Linked DNA regions of Homo sapiens: region 2 is linked to region 1. The links are contacts of gene promoters, found by promoter capture Hi-C in human tissues and cell types (Jung and others, 2019). All regions are on one chromosome and are shown on one strand. The core of a region is centred on a gene start or on the middle of the fragment in contact, and the rest is flanking DNA. Distances in the headings are between cores, read along the strand shown.

What was found. Contacts are between HindIII fragments. The study calls those that stand out against the background at their distance.
Region 2: a contact is called between a fragment that was not itself captured here and the fragment with the promoter of VPS4B in region 1, in 1 of the 25 tissues and cell types used here (dorsolateral prefrontal cortex).

Annotation. Positions count from the first base shown.
Region 1 is chr18:63,420,436-63,426,444 of GRCh38, forward strand. VPS4B (vacuolar protein sorting 4 homolog B) reads right to left here and starts at 2,041. Exons shown (of 11, transcript NM_004869.4): 1 at 1,798-2,041. The coding sequence starts at 1,824. RefSeq lists an enhancer at 1,909-2,208. The HindIII fragment of the contact is 11,812 bases long and covers 1-6,009 here.
Region 2 is chr18:62,407,487-62,413,751 of GRCh38, forward strand. No RefSeq gene overlaps it. Among named protein-coding and RNA genes, the nearest start is that of TNFRSF11A, 85 kb to the left of the region's middle. The HindIII fragment of the contact is 3,418 bases long and covers 806-4,223 here.

The sequences.
Region 1 (6,009 bases), core at 791-3,290:
AGACTGTCTCAAAACAACAACAACAAAAACCTGCAAATGATGAAGATTATGTTGTAGAGTATCGAAATCACATGCAAAGTCTCTGACAAATGAAAAGCTGGTGGAATAAAAATTGTTAAAAAGCCAACGATGACAAGATGGGCACTTCAGAAGAGTCACCTTTAATACTCAAGGGAAAAATACTTTTACCAAATGACCAACGCTTTTTCCAAATACGTTTACCAAAAAGAACCTTTCCAAATAGGACTACAAAAAGCTACAAAAAACTCAAGTGAAGATTGCTGAATCTTAGTTTAATACAACCTTGGTGAAAAAGATAGTCATCCGGGCACGGTGACTCACGCCTGTAATCCCAGCACTTTGGGAGGCTGAGGTAGGCGGATCACCTGAGGTCAAGAGGCCAGCCTGGGCCAACATGGTGAAACCTCATCTCTACTACTAAAAATACAAAAATTAGCTGGGCGTGGTGGTGGGTGCCTGTAGTCCCAGGTACTCAGGAGGCTGAGGCAAGAGAATCGCTTGAACCTGGGAGGTGGAGGTTGTAGTGAGCTGAAATCACGCCACTGCACTCAAGCCTGGGCGACCGTGCAAGACTCCGTCTCAAAAAAAAAAAAAAAAAGAAAGAAAAGAAAAGGAAAAAAACACAGACAAATCAACACTTGACTTATTCCACAAAATGAGTCATTGTTGCAATTATACAATTATAATATTTTGTGAAAGATAACAATTATTTTAATAATCTTCTAGGTCGATTTTCAAGATGAAAGTCCCAAGCAAGCCTCCTTTCCCACTCTTTTTGTGTATGTGTGTGTGAAATTTTAATCTCTGTTTAAGTGGGTCTACTTTGAGTGGTCTTTCTTCAGAATCAATTATCATGGGTTAAGGAGTTCTTCCATTACCTTTGATGCCTCTGTCAGGCACTCCAATAACTGCTTGTTCAACAAACTACCGGAAGTCCACGACGGGGACTCAATACAAGTATTTTAGGCTACTCTTTTGTGCCTTATTGACTTACTGGACTGGGAGTCCTCTACATTAAGCCACATTACATTCTAAACGCCACTGAAGCCCTAGATCCATTCTGGGGATGGGAGACACCATTACATTAAGAAATTTCTTTTCTGAACGAATTCCATTCCACAGAGGACTAACGATTAAGCCTAAAATCTTAAGATTCCATGATTTGTGTACAAAACACTGTGCTCATTGCGGTAGAGGAGGGGAAGTGGAGCCACACAGAGGTTTAAGAATACTCCTCGATCTTACACACTACCATCTGGGAGCCACAGGAGTGTGCACATAAATTCAATGACTTCACGGAGATTGCATGCAGGCTGGCTGTAATCTCAGATTCTTGGTCTGTTCCCATATCTCTACTCACCTGACAGCTCAGAATGAAGGGGTCTGCTGTCAGCTTGAGAAACTAAGACCGAACTATGACCACCCTATCTTCAACTGGTCCAGAATAGGGCTTTGCAAAAATTACGTTCTTTCTTTCTCCGTTAACCCTGATTGGAGAAACCTGCCCAGATCTTGGCTGGTTTGGAAGCGGGAAGTGTCAACAAAAGTGAAGAGTCTCACAAAGCCAGTAGCTCGGGAGACCCCAAGAGCGGGCCAGAAACGACCTTTCCGTTGGAAAACGGGCCCCTCTCCCACCTGCTGCAGGTCCCCGGACCCGCCCTCCTGCGCCTCGACCACAGGCGCGGCCGCTTCCTCCCTTCTCCCCGCCCCCCACCCGCTTCTCGCGCCTCCCCTCGATCCCAGCTCCCTAGGGGGACGGGAGATGAGCAATGATACCTGGAGGTTGGGCGAAGTGGATGACATGGCGGAGTTCCCAGGCGGTTCCCAAGGGAACGAGGGGCGAGGAGAGCCAACAGCAGCAACGTCGAAGCGCGCACGGGGTAACAGCCCTCAAACTGGGGAGGCCGGTGGTTCTCGGACCGCGAAGGGCAGCCTCCCTTCCGGAACTTGTTTTAGACAACACTCTCTCCACCAGAGCTCCGACCCTCCCCACCAAACTTCCGCAATCCCGAGGCCCTCTAGGTTCTGGTCCCGCCTCTGCTCCGGGCACTTCCGATTTCGTCATCAGCACGCGCACCCAGTCACCAGACTCCCTTCTCTAGCCACAGCGCAGGCCCTCCCTGGGCCGGGAGAAGTAGCCTGGAAGCCAATCGAGCCCTGGCGGAAGTCGGGCTCGGCGCAGGCGCACTGAGACTCTGGCCTAGGCGCGGGCGGCAGCCTGGCAGACCTAGGAGAGCGCAAGCGCGGAAGCACAGAGCCGGGTTTTGTTGTTTGTTTGTTCCCCACCCCCGGGGACGTCTTTTACTTTGAGATGAATTATTGGCCCCGGCTCCCTTCCCTCCTCATCCACATGCTTTGTTGCCTCGTAGCTTTTGAGTGAAAAAGTCGTCCATTTCCAAGACCCGCCGACTGGGGGCTTTGGGCCTGTGACTGCGCCTTCACTCCGTGTCCTCTGTGGAATGGGGGCGATCACCGTCCTCGTCTCGGTGGTGAATAATTCAGGAGGGAGTGCGCGGTGAGGCGGCCGCACAGCGGTGCGCTAGCAGTCAGGCCGCGGGCGGGTCGGCGCTCGTTCCCGCTTGTTCTTCCCACGCCACTCGGCATCTTCCAAATGACTGTTGTGTTGGGAAGATGAATGTAAATAAGGCGTGGACGGCCGCTGTCCTCGAGTATGTGGTCTGAGAGGGAAGCACTTGTCCTGTAAAATGGGCATATCAGATATTATTTATGCCAGTTATGTTTACAAGCAAATGGCTTGAGGAGGTTGAATGCGTCAGGGATTAGAGGCAGAACCAAAGTAAAACCCTTTCTCAGCCTTCCTATGGTTTGCAGCCACCACCACCCTTTTCTTCTTTTCATAGTTAACATTCTCAAAGGAAAGCAACATAGATGTTTAATCACTCCATCATTTTTTTCTCACTCATTTCTTAATTTTTTCTCATCTGGCATCTCCGAAAGAATTAAAGTCCTCTCCTCTTCCCTCTTCATTGGTATTGTCAACTACCCAGTTCTTGTTTGTCCAGCTTCCCAATATTCCTTATCTGCTTCCTTCACTGTCTCCCTTTCTTACTCCTCCCTGAGCTTAAGCTGAATTTACTCAAGAGTCTGATGTCCTCTTCTCTCTTCACCTCTGCTCATCTAACTCTCTTCTTGAGCTTCAGCTATCAATAGACTAGAAATTGCTTCAAATCTGGATCTCTAGACCCACCCCATCCCCAGCCCAGCATTTACAACAGCCTCCCAGAGGTTTCCTTCACAGGGTTTTTCTGCAAGACAAATTCAACATACTCTAATTAATTACCTTCTACCCTAAACTTCTTTCTCTGGTCTCTCCTTAGAATAGTATTGCCAAATCTGTATCATCCAGGCTCGAAGCACAGAGCCCTCTCTCTGCCCTGCATCTACCCGTCCTTTCTTCCCACTTGTGAATTTGCCTTCGCAAAATGATGACTGAGACAGTGAAAGAGATCTAACTTAACCAACTCCATCTTACTTTTAACCTCCAAGCTGTCCTTGTACATTCCTGAGCATAGGCTGAACTAACTGTGGGAGAAACTGAGTTTATAATTTAAGCAAAGATGGGCCGGGCGTGGTGACTCACGCCTGTAATCCCAGCACTTTGGGAGGCCGAGGTGGGTGGATCACTTGAGGTCAGGAGTTCGAGACCAGCCTGGCCAACATGGTGAAACTCCATCTCTACTAAAAATACAAAAATTAGGCCGGGTGTGGTGAGTCACGCCTGTAATCCCAGCACTTTGGGAGGCCAAGGCGGGCGATCACCTGAGGTCAGCAGTTCAAGACCCGCCTGGCCAACATGGTGAAACCCTGTCTCTACTAAAAATACAAAAATTAGCTGGGCATGGTGGTGCGTTCCTGTAATCCCAGCTACTCGGGAGGCTGAGGCAGGAGAATTTCTTGAACCGGGACCTAGGAGGCAGAGGTTGTGGTGAGCTGAGATCGCACCACAGCACTCCAGCCTGGGCTACAGAGCGAAACTCTGTCTCAAAACAAACAAACAAAAATTAGCCAGGCGTGATGGTGCCTGCATGTAACTCCAGCTACTTGGGAGGGTGAAGCAGGAGAATCACTAGAACCCAGGAGGCAGAGATTGCAGTGAGCCAAGATCACACCACCGCACTTCAGCCTGGGCAACAGAGTGAGAATCGGTAAAAACAAACAAACAAACAAAAAACCCCTCTTTTATCACCAGTAATAAGCCATGTTGTTATGATGGAACCCCTGATGTGGAGAAGGGCACATTAGCTCTGTGGTATGCTTCCCAAACCTGTAACCTCAATCTAATCATGAGAAAACATCAGAAAAATTCATATGGAGGGTTTTTCTACTTCTACAAAATAACCAGTGCTCCTCAAAAATGTCAAGATCATAAAAGACAAGGAAAGACTGAGGAACTGTCACAGATTGTAGAGACTAAGAAGATGACAACTAAATGCAGTATGGGATTCTGGATTGGATCCTGAAACAGAAAAGGGCCATGAGTTGAAAAACTGTTGTAAGAATGAGAATAAAGTCTGCAGTTTAGCTAATAGTATTTTATCAATGTTAATTTCTTATTGTTGATAAATGTACCATGGTTATTTAAGATGTTAACAGTAGGGGAAATTGGGTGAAGAATATATGGGAATTCTCTGTATACCTTTGCAACTATTCTGTAAGAGTTTATTTTTAATTTTTATTTGTGTATTTATTTTTATTTTTTTTGAGACAAAGTCTCGCTCTGTCACCCAGGCTGGAGAGCAGTGGCACAATCTCGGCTCACTGCATCCTCCACCTCCCATAACAATTCTCCTGCCTCAGCCTCCCGAGTAGCTAGGATGACAGGCGTGTGCCACCATGCTTGGCAAATTTTTTGTGTTTTTGTAGAGATGGGGTTTTGCCATTTTGTCCAGGCTGGTCTCGAACTCCTGTCCTCAAGTGATCTGCCTGCCTCAGCCACCCGATGTGCTGGGATTACAGGCGGGAACCACCACACCCAGCCTGTAAGTATTATTTTAAAAGGAAAATTTTTCATTTTAAAATTCCTATTCCCTGGGACCTTACATTTTAGTGGAGTAGAAACTTTTAACCGTTTACATATTTAAAATGTAAATATGTTACATGTGTAAGAGTTTTGCATACATTATCTTATTGTATACGACAAGGTAAATCTTAAGTATCCCATTTTTACAAAAGAGGAAACAGGCCAGGCGCGGTGGCTCACACCTGTAATTCCAGCATTTTGGAAGGCCGAGACTGGCAGATCATGAGGTCAGGAGATTGAGACCATCCTGGCCAATATGGTGAAATGCCATCTCTACTAAAAATACAAAAACTAGCTGGGTGTGGTGGCACATGCCAATAATCCCAACTACTCGGGAGGCTGAGGCATGAGAATCACTTCAACTCAGGAGGCAGAGGTTGCAGTGAGCCAAGATCGTGCCACTGCACTCCAGCCTGGCAACAGAGCAAGACTCCATCTCAAAAAAAAAAAAAAAAAAAAAAAGAAGAAGAAGAAGAAAAAGGGAAACAGCCTCAGAGGTATCAGTAGAAATCCCCCCCAATTCATTCAGCTTTTATATGGCAGAGCTGGAGTTTGACCCAGGTCTTCTGACTCCAGGGTGACAAGTGCTAGGATAGAGGCAGGAAGTCCTGTGGGACCACAGGAGAGAGAAGGCTTAATTTTGAATGAGTGGTTAGGGATGTCTTAGGGAAAGTTCACTTAAACTGAAGTTTAAAATCTTAATCTGATTTTGACGGAGTGCAGGCCATTTCAGGCAGAAGGAAAAGCAGAAATAAAGGCGCGGAAGAATAAAGTACCTGCTCTGAGGGATCCCTGGAATGTAGGAAGCAGAGGCACTGTGGGGTTGGAGTGGCAGGAGATGAAGCTAAAAATACACCAACTGGCACTGCCAGTTAGAGGCTTGGAATAAGGAGTTTGGACATTATTCTGTAAGATAATGTTGAAAGCTTCCCTCTTCATTCTGTCAC
Region 2 (6,265 bases), core at 1,265-3,764, 1.0 Mb before region 1:
TTTTTCTGAGGAAGGAAATTAAAACTGGGGGAAGGACAGAGAATTCCCATTCCAGGAGCCTGGGAGCTCTGATAGGACCCAATTGATATTGACTGAGATGAAAGTGGCCACATCACCTGAGGCTTGTCTGCCTGGATTTTCCCCCCATTAACCAGAAAAGAAAGGAACCTAAAGCCTTGTGATAAGAAAATTCATTTTCTATAAAGCAGGCTTCTTGGAGGAGATATATCAGGACGTGATGTGAATGCTGACACCCTGACACAGTCCTGTGTGGCTTAACCACGGGGCTGGTTCTGAGAGATGCCGCGTTAGGCGATTTCATCGTGGTGAGAACATCATAGAGTGTTCTCACACAATCCTAGGTGGTGCAGCCTACCAGACACCTAGGTTCGATGGTACACCGCATTGCTCCTAGGCTACAAACGTGTACAGCATGCTGCTCTGCTGAATACTGTAGGCCACTGTGACATGATGGGAAGCATTTTTGTATCTAAGAATAGAATAGACACAGTCGAAATACAGTATGAAAGACAGAAAATGACCCATCTGTCTTGGAGCTGGCAGGACTGGAAGTTGCTCTGGATGGGCCAGTGAGTGAGGAGTGAATGTGGAGGCCTGGGACGTCACTCTACGCTGCTGTAGACTTTAGAAACAAGCTACACTTACTTACACTGCACCAACTCTTCCAAAATATTTTCCTTTCTTCAATGATCAATTCATCTTTGTTTACTGTAATTTTTTTACTTAATAAGCTTTGAAATTTTTTAACATTTTGACTCTTGTAATAACACCTAGCTTAAAACACAAACACACTGTACAACTGTGAAAAAATACTTTCTTCATGTTATTGTTCTATAAGCTTTTTTCCTTTTAAACTTTTCTTTTTTTTTTTTTTCTTTTTTTGAGACAGAGTTTCGCTCTCGTTGTCCAGGCTGGAGTGCAATGGTGCGATCTCAGCTCACTGCAACCTCTGCCTCCTAGGTTCAAATGATTCTCCTGCCTCAGCCTCCTGAGTAGCTGGGATTACAGGCATGCGCCACCATGCCTGGCTAATTTTGTATTTTTAGTAGGGAAGGGGTTTCTCCATGTTGGTCAGGCTGGTCTCAAACTCCCAACCTCAGGTGATCTGCCCGCCTCGGCCTCCCAAAGTGCTGGGATTACAAGCATGAGTCACAGCGCCCAGCCTTAAAATTTCTTTTTTTTCTTTTATTTTTACTTTTTAAACCACTGGCAGAGCCGCATCACCACAAACACGAGAGGAATGCCTTGCACCGAGACGACATTATGACAACTATGACGTCACTAGGTGATAGGACTTTTCCAGCTTCATTATAACCTCATGGGCCATGGTTGTATCTACAGTCTATTGTTGACCCGCACGTTGTTTTGTGGCATGTGACTATATTTGCTTAAGAAGCCAATCATGCCCCATCTCCAGACATGTATGAATTTACCTGACAGCATTCAGGAAATATGTTCTATTACTATACTTTTTCTAAAGCAAATCAAACATAGTTCTGAGACTCTGCTTGACAAAGGTAGTGTGAATTCACTTCGTCGGGTTTTGGGGTGCCACTCTGCTTCCCTCAAGTACTGTAAGAGTCTGTCCAGAAATTTTGGGGAAAGGTCTTTTTGGCATTCAGTCCATCCTGGATGATGTATGAATCCTCATGCATTGTCTCAGGTCATGTGGTCCCTTCGAAGGTGGACTGCCACGTCCTTTCTGAGCAAAGCTTGGATGCAAAGACCATTAGCCTCATAGCTTAGGGCTTGGTCTCTGGGTGTCCCATGAGAATCCTGTTATTGACAGGGTGCTGCAATGGAAGGGGATGGAAGGAGAAATCCACCCCACTTGGGCTTGGGAAGTCTAACTGCTCTCTTTGAGGCCACACCACTGCTCACTTCCTAAAGCCCCAGGCCCCTGCTCAGTCATGGTCTCCTGAAATGCCCATGTCCTTGGCCCTGAAACCTGGGAGTGTAACTTCTATGGCAAAAGGGACTTTGCAGATGCAATTAAATTAATACTCTTAAAATGGGGAGATTATACTGGATTATCCAGGTGCATCCTAAATATAATCACACGTATCCTCAGAAGAGGGAGGCAGAGAGAGATTTGACTTCGGAAGAGGAGAAGGCCGTGTGATGAAGGAAGCAGAGAATGGAGGATGCACTTTGAGGATGGAGGAAGGAGCCACAGGCAAAAGAAGGTTGGAGCCTTCTGGAAGTTAGAAAAGGTGAGGAAATGGATTTTACCCTAGAGCTTCCAGCAGGAACCAGCCCTGCCACTTCAAACTTCCAGCCTCCAGAACTGGAAGATGATAGAGTTGTGTTGTGTCAAGCACCATGTTTGTGATGATTAGTTATAATGGCACCAGGAAACTAACACAGCTCCTTTACTCCCTGGACAACTGAGCTCTTGGGCCTAGACTTTTTTTTTTTTTAACAGATCGAAGTGTTGATAAGATGAGAAAACCCAGCCCTCTAGGACCCAAAGACTGGGCTGCCTTCTTAGAGTGCAGAAAGGAAAATACCTTCATTTCTTTCATCAATGACTTCACGGCAGGAGGTAAGACATGGTTGGTTTCTCAATCACGATATCCTGTCCCTCAGGAACATTTGAAGTCTTAGTCATCGGGGCTCCTGGAAACCTACTGAGACTGGAAAGATGCAGCACTGGCCCATAAAGCTTGGGGTCACACAGGTCTGTCACCAATGCTTGAAAAACCCGTCCTTGGCTGGGGGGCCTCGGTCACCTGCACTAGTAGAAAGTCTGTGGACCCATTTTTCGTGAAGAGGAGATCTGCTGACCTTCTATAAACAATTGCCCAAGTGGAGGCAGGGCTCATCGAGACTCACCCAGCAGAGGAAAATGAGTCCAACACTGCGGCTGGGCAAAGTGGGACTGAGCATGGGTAGGGAGCAGTGTGGGCCTGAGGCGCTCTGCAGGGAGGATGTGCAACGTGGTGTTCTATCCACATGGGGTGTGCCTTCAGGCTGTGCATGGGCAGGACAGGGCTCTCCCTCCATACTGTCAGGCTGCAAAATGTAGGACATTGGTAGGTAAGAATTCCACTTATTTGGGGAAAATCTATATTCCATAATTTCTATGTTACTCATGCTTTATTGTGCCTTCCCAAGATATTTTGTATTTCTAAGGGGTATGGAAAGAGTCCATCCTCTTTAGTTTTCTCATAAAAACACTAGGCAATCATCCAGTTAGACAAGTACAATTGTCCCTTGGTATCCATGAGGGATTGGTTCCAGGACACCAAACTCCATGGATGCTCGAGTCCCTTACAGAAAATGATGTAGTATTTGCATATAACCTACACACATCCTCCCCTATGCTTTAAATTATCTCTAGATTGCTTAGCATACCCAGTACAATCCAAATGCTACATACGTAGTTGTCATACTGTATCATTTAGGGAATAATAACAAATAAATTCTGTACATGTTCAACACAGACACAACCATCCATTCGGTTTCTTCCAAGTATTTTTGATTCCTGGTTGGTTGAATCCACAGATGCAGAACCCAGAACCCACAACCCACAGATATAGATGGACTGCTGTCTATCAGTTTCCTACTGCTGCCGTAACAAATGACCACAAACTTCATGGCTTAAAACAACACAAATTTATGATCTTGTAGTTCTGGAGGTCAAAAGTCTGAAACTCACAGGGTGATATGGTTTGGCTGTGTCCCCACCCAAATCTCATCTTGAATTGTAGCTCCCATAATTCCCACGTGTCATGGGAGGGAACAAGTGGGAGGTAATTGAATCATGGGGGCAGGTCTTTCCCAGGCTATTCTTGTGATAGTGAATAAGTCTCACAAGAGCTGATGGTTTTATAAATGGGAATTCCCCTGCACAAGCTCTCTTGCCTGCCACCATGTAAGACGTGCCTTTGTTCCTCCTTTGCCTTCTGACATGATTGTGAGGCCTCCCCAGCCATGTGGAAGTATGAGTCAATTAAACCTCTTTCCTTTATAAATTACCCAGTCTCAGGTATGTCTTTATTAGCAGTGTCAGAATGGACTAATACACTGGGCAAAGATCAAGAAGTCAGGAGGGCCACACTCCTTCTGGAGGCTCAGGGAGAATCTGTCTTTCCCATTTGCAGCTTCTAGAGGCTGCCTGGGTTCCTTGGCTCCAGGCCTCTTCCTCTGTTTTTGAAACCAGCAATCTCATCACTCCAACATCCGCTTCTATTACCTCATGCTCTGAGTCTGCCTCTCCTGCTTCTCGCTTACTTGCAGGGCTTGGATAATCCAGGATAGTCTCCCATCTCTAGATTATTATTATTTTTTTTAGATGGAGTCTCACTCTTGTCGCCCAGGCTGGAGTGCAATGGCGCAATCTTGGCTCACTGCAACCTCCACCTCCTGGGTTCAAGCAATTCTCCTGCCTCAGCCTCCCGAGTAGCTGGGATTACAGGCTCCTGCCACCAAGCCTGGCTAACTTTATTGATTTTTAGTAGAGATGGGGTTTCACCATGTTGGCCAGGCTGGTCTCGAACTCCTGACCTCAGATGATCCACCCACCTTGGCCTCCTAAAGTGCTGGGATTAGAGGCGTGAGCCACCACGCCTGGCCTCCCATCTCTAGATTCTTAATCACATCTGCAAAGTTCTTTTTTCCAAGTGAGCCGATATATTCACAGGTGCCAGGGATCAGGACATGGACAGTTTTGGGGGGTCATTATTCTGCCCACCATAGCAAACAAATTTACTATGATGTTTTAAAACCCAGCTATAAATATCTGTTCATGGAAACTTCTCAAGCGAGTCTAGTGCTATCTGCAGGTGCCTGGCACAGCCCTAAGTAAATGCTTGCTTCTTTCTGTCATTCGTTTCCCTTAAGTTCCAGCTGTCCTTGTACATTTGCTCACTCATGAGCCTTCCCTTCCCAGTCCTTAGAAGCAGCTTCTGGAGATGACCCCATTGTGAAGTTTCTAAGGCTCCCCACAAAGGGCCTCTGGGGCCTGCGGATGAATAAGTCCTTGACCAGCCTCCACCTCCCTCTTCTAGGGTCTGACGATTGGCTGGCTAGTCCATTGCCAGAAAGAAAACAATCTTATTCCTAGGCAATCAGAAACACACATGGCTTCCAGAAGATGGGGCCAGACATGTCCTTACTTACATACAGAGCCCTCCTCCCTGTGAGGGTCTCTGCTTTCTCTGCCCTCTCTCTTTTTTCCTCCCATCCTCAGCCCTTCCTCAGGATCCTGGCTCCATCCTGGTGGCAGCCCACAGAGTCATGGGGAGCATTCCTCCTGCACTATCCAGGAAGCCAAAGCAAGGTTCCTCCCTGTTCCCCTGCTTAGCACAAGTCATAAGATTTTCAGGCTCCTTTGGGCAGGATGTGAACAAGACAAGTCCTTCTTGCTGATATTAACCATTAATATGTATTATCATTTAAGTGATCTTCCTAGCTTGGCTGTCTTTCTAAGACCCTCTCCTCACTGGGATACGAGGAAAAGACAAGAAGGCTGTAAGAAGGATGGAAAATCCTATCCTCCCACAAACCATAATCAACTGAATGTATAATAATTGAATGAGTAAATGCATGCATGAAATGCATCCAACATCTTTGCCTTCCTATTATCTCATACCTTGTAAAAGACAGGAGACTTTGGCAATGAAGACTGCCTTTACTGCAGAGCTGGACCAGCAACCCCATCTGTAGCCCCTCTCCTGTGTCTAGTTCATACCACATTTTTGCCCTGATTTTGGATTTCAATATACTGAGAAATAAGCTTAACTGCTAGAGCCATCTGTCTTCTCTTTTAGAACGCTGGAAAATATGAGATATCTAAAATGTCAAGCTGGAAGGTTATTTCATAATTGATGTTCCAGCTGTCTCAGGATAATTTCTCAACTGTAATTGTCAAGGGCTCCTCAATTGCTTCTGCCAAAATCTTTTCATTACCACACCAGTCAGATTTCCAAATATTCATTCAAATTCATAAAACATGCTAGCACCTTCCTGTGTAAGATGATGTGTAATAACTATTAGTTAGCTGGGCTAGCATGTGCTGTAATGTCAAACCTATGCCAGGAATATCCTATGATCTTTCAGGGAAATTCTAGGTCCCTGAGCAAAACTTTTGAAACAATTCTTTCTTGAAGGAAAAAATTCCCAGAAATATCCTCAGTGGGGCTCCTTAGGGAGTTGCCTGGGTAGTAACTATGCCTCTATTTGTGTAACCAAAACGTATTTTTAAGGGGGATTTAATCAAATAGTTAAAAAGTAATGCCTT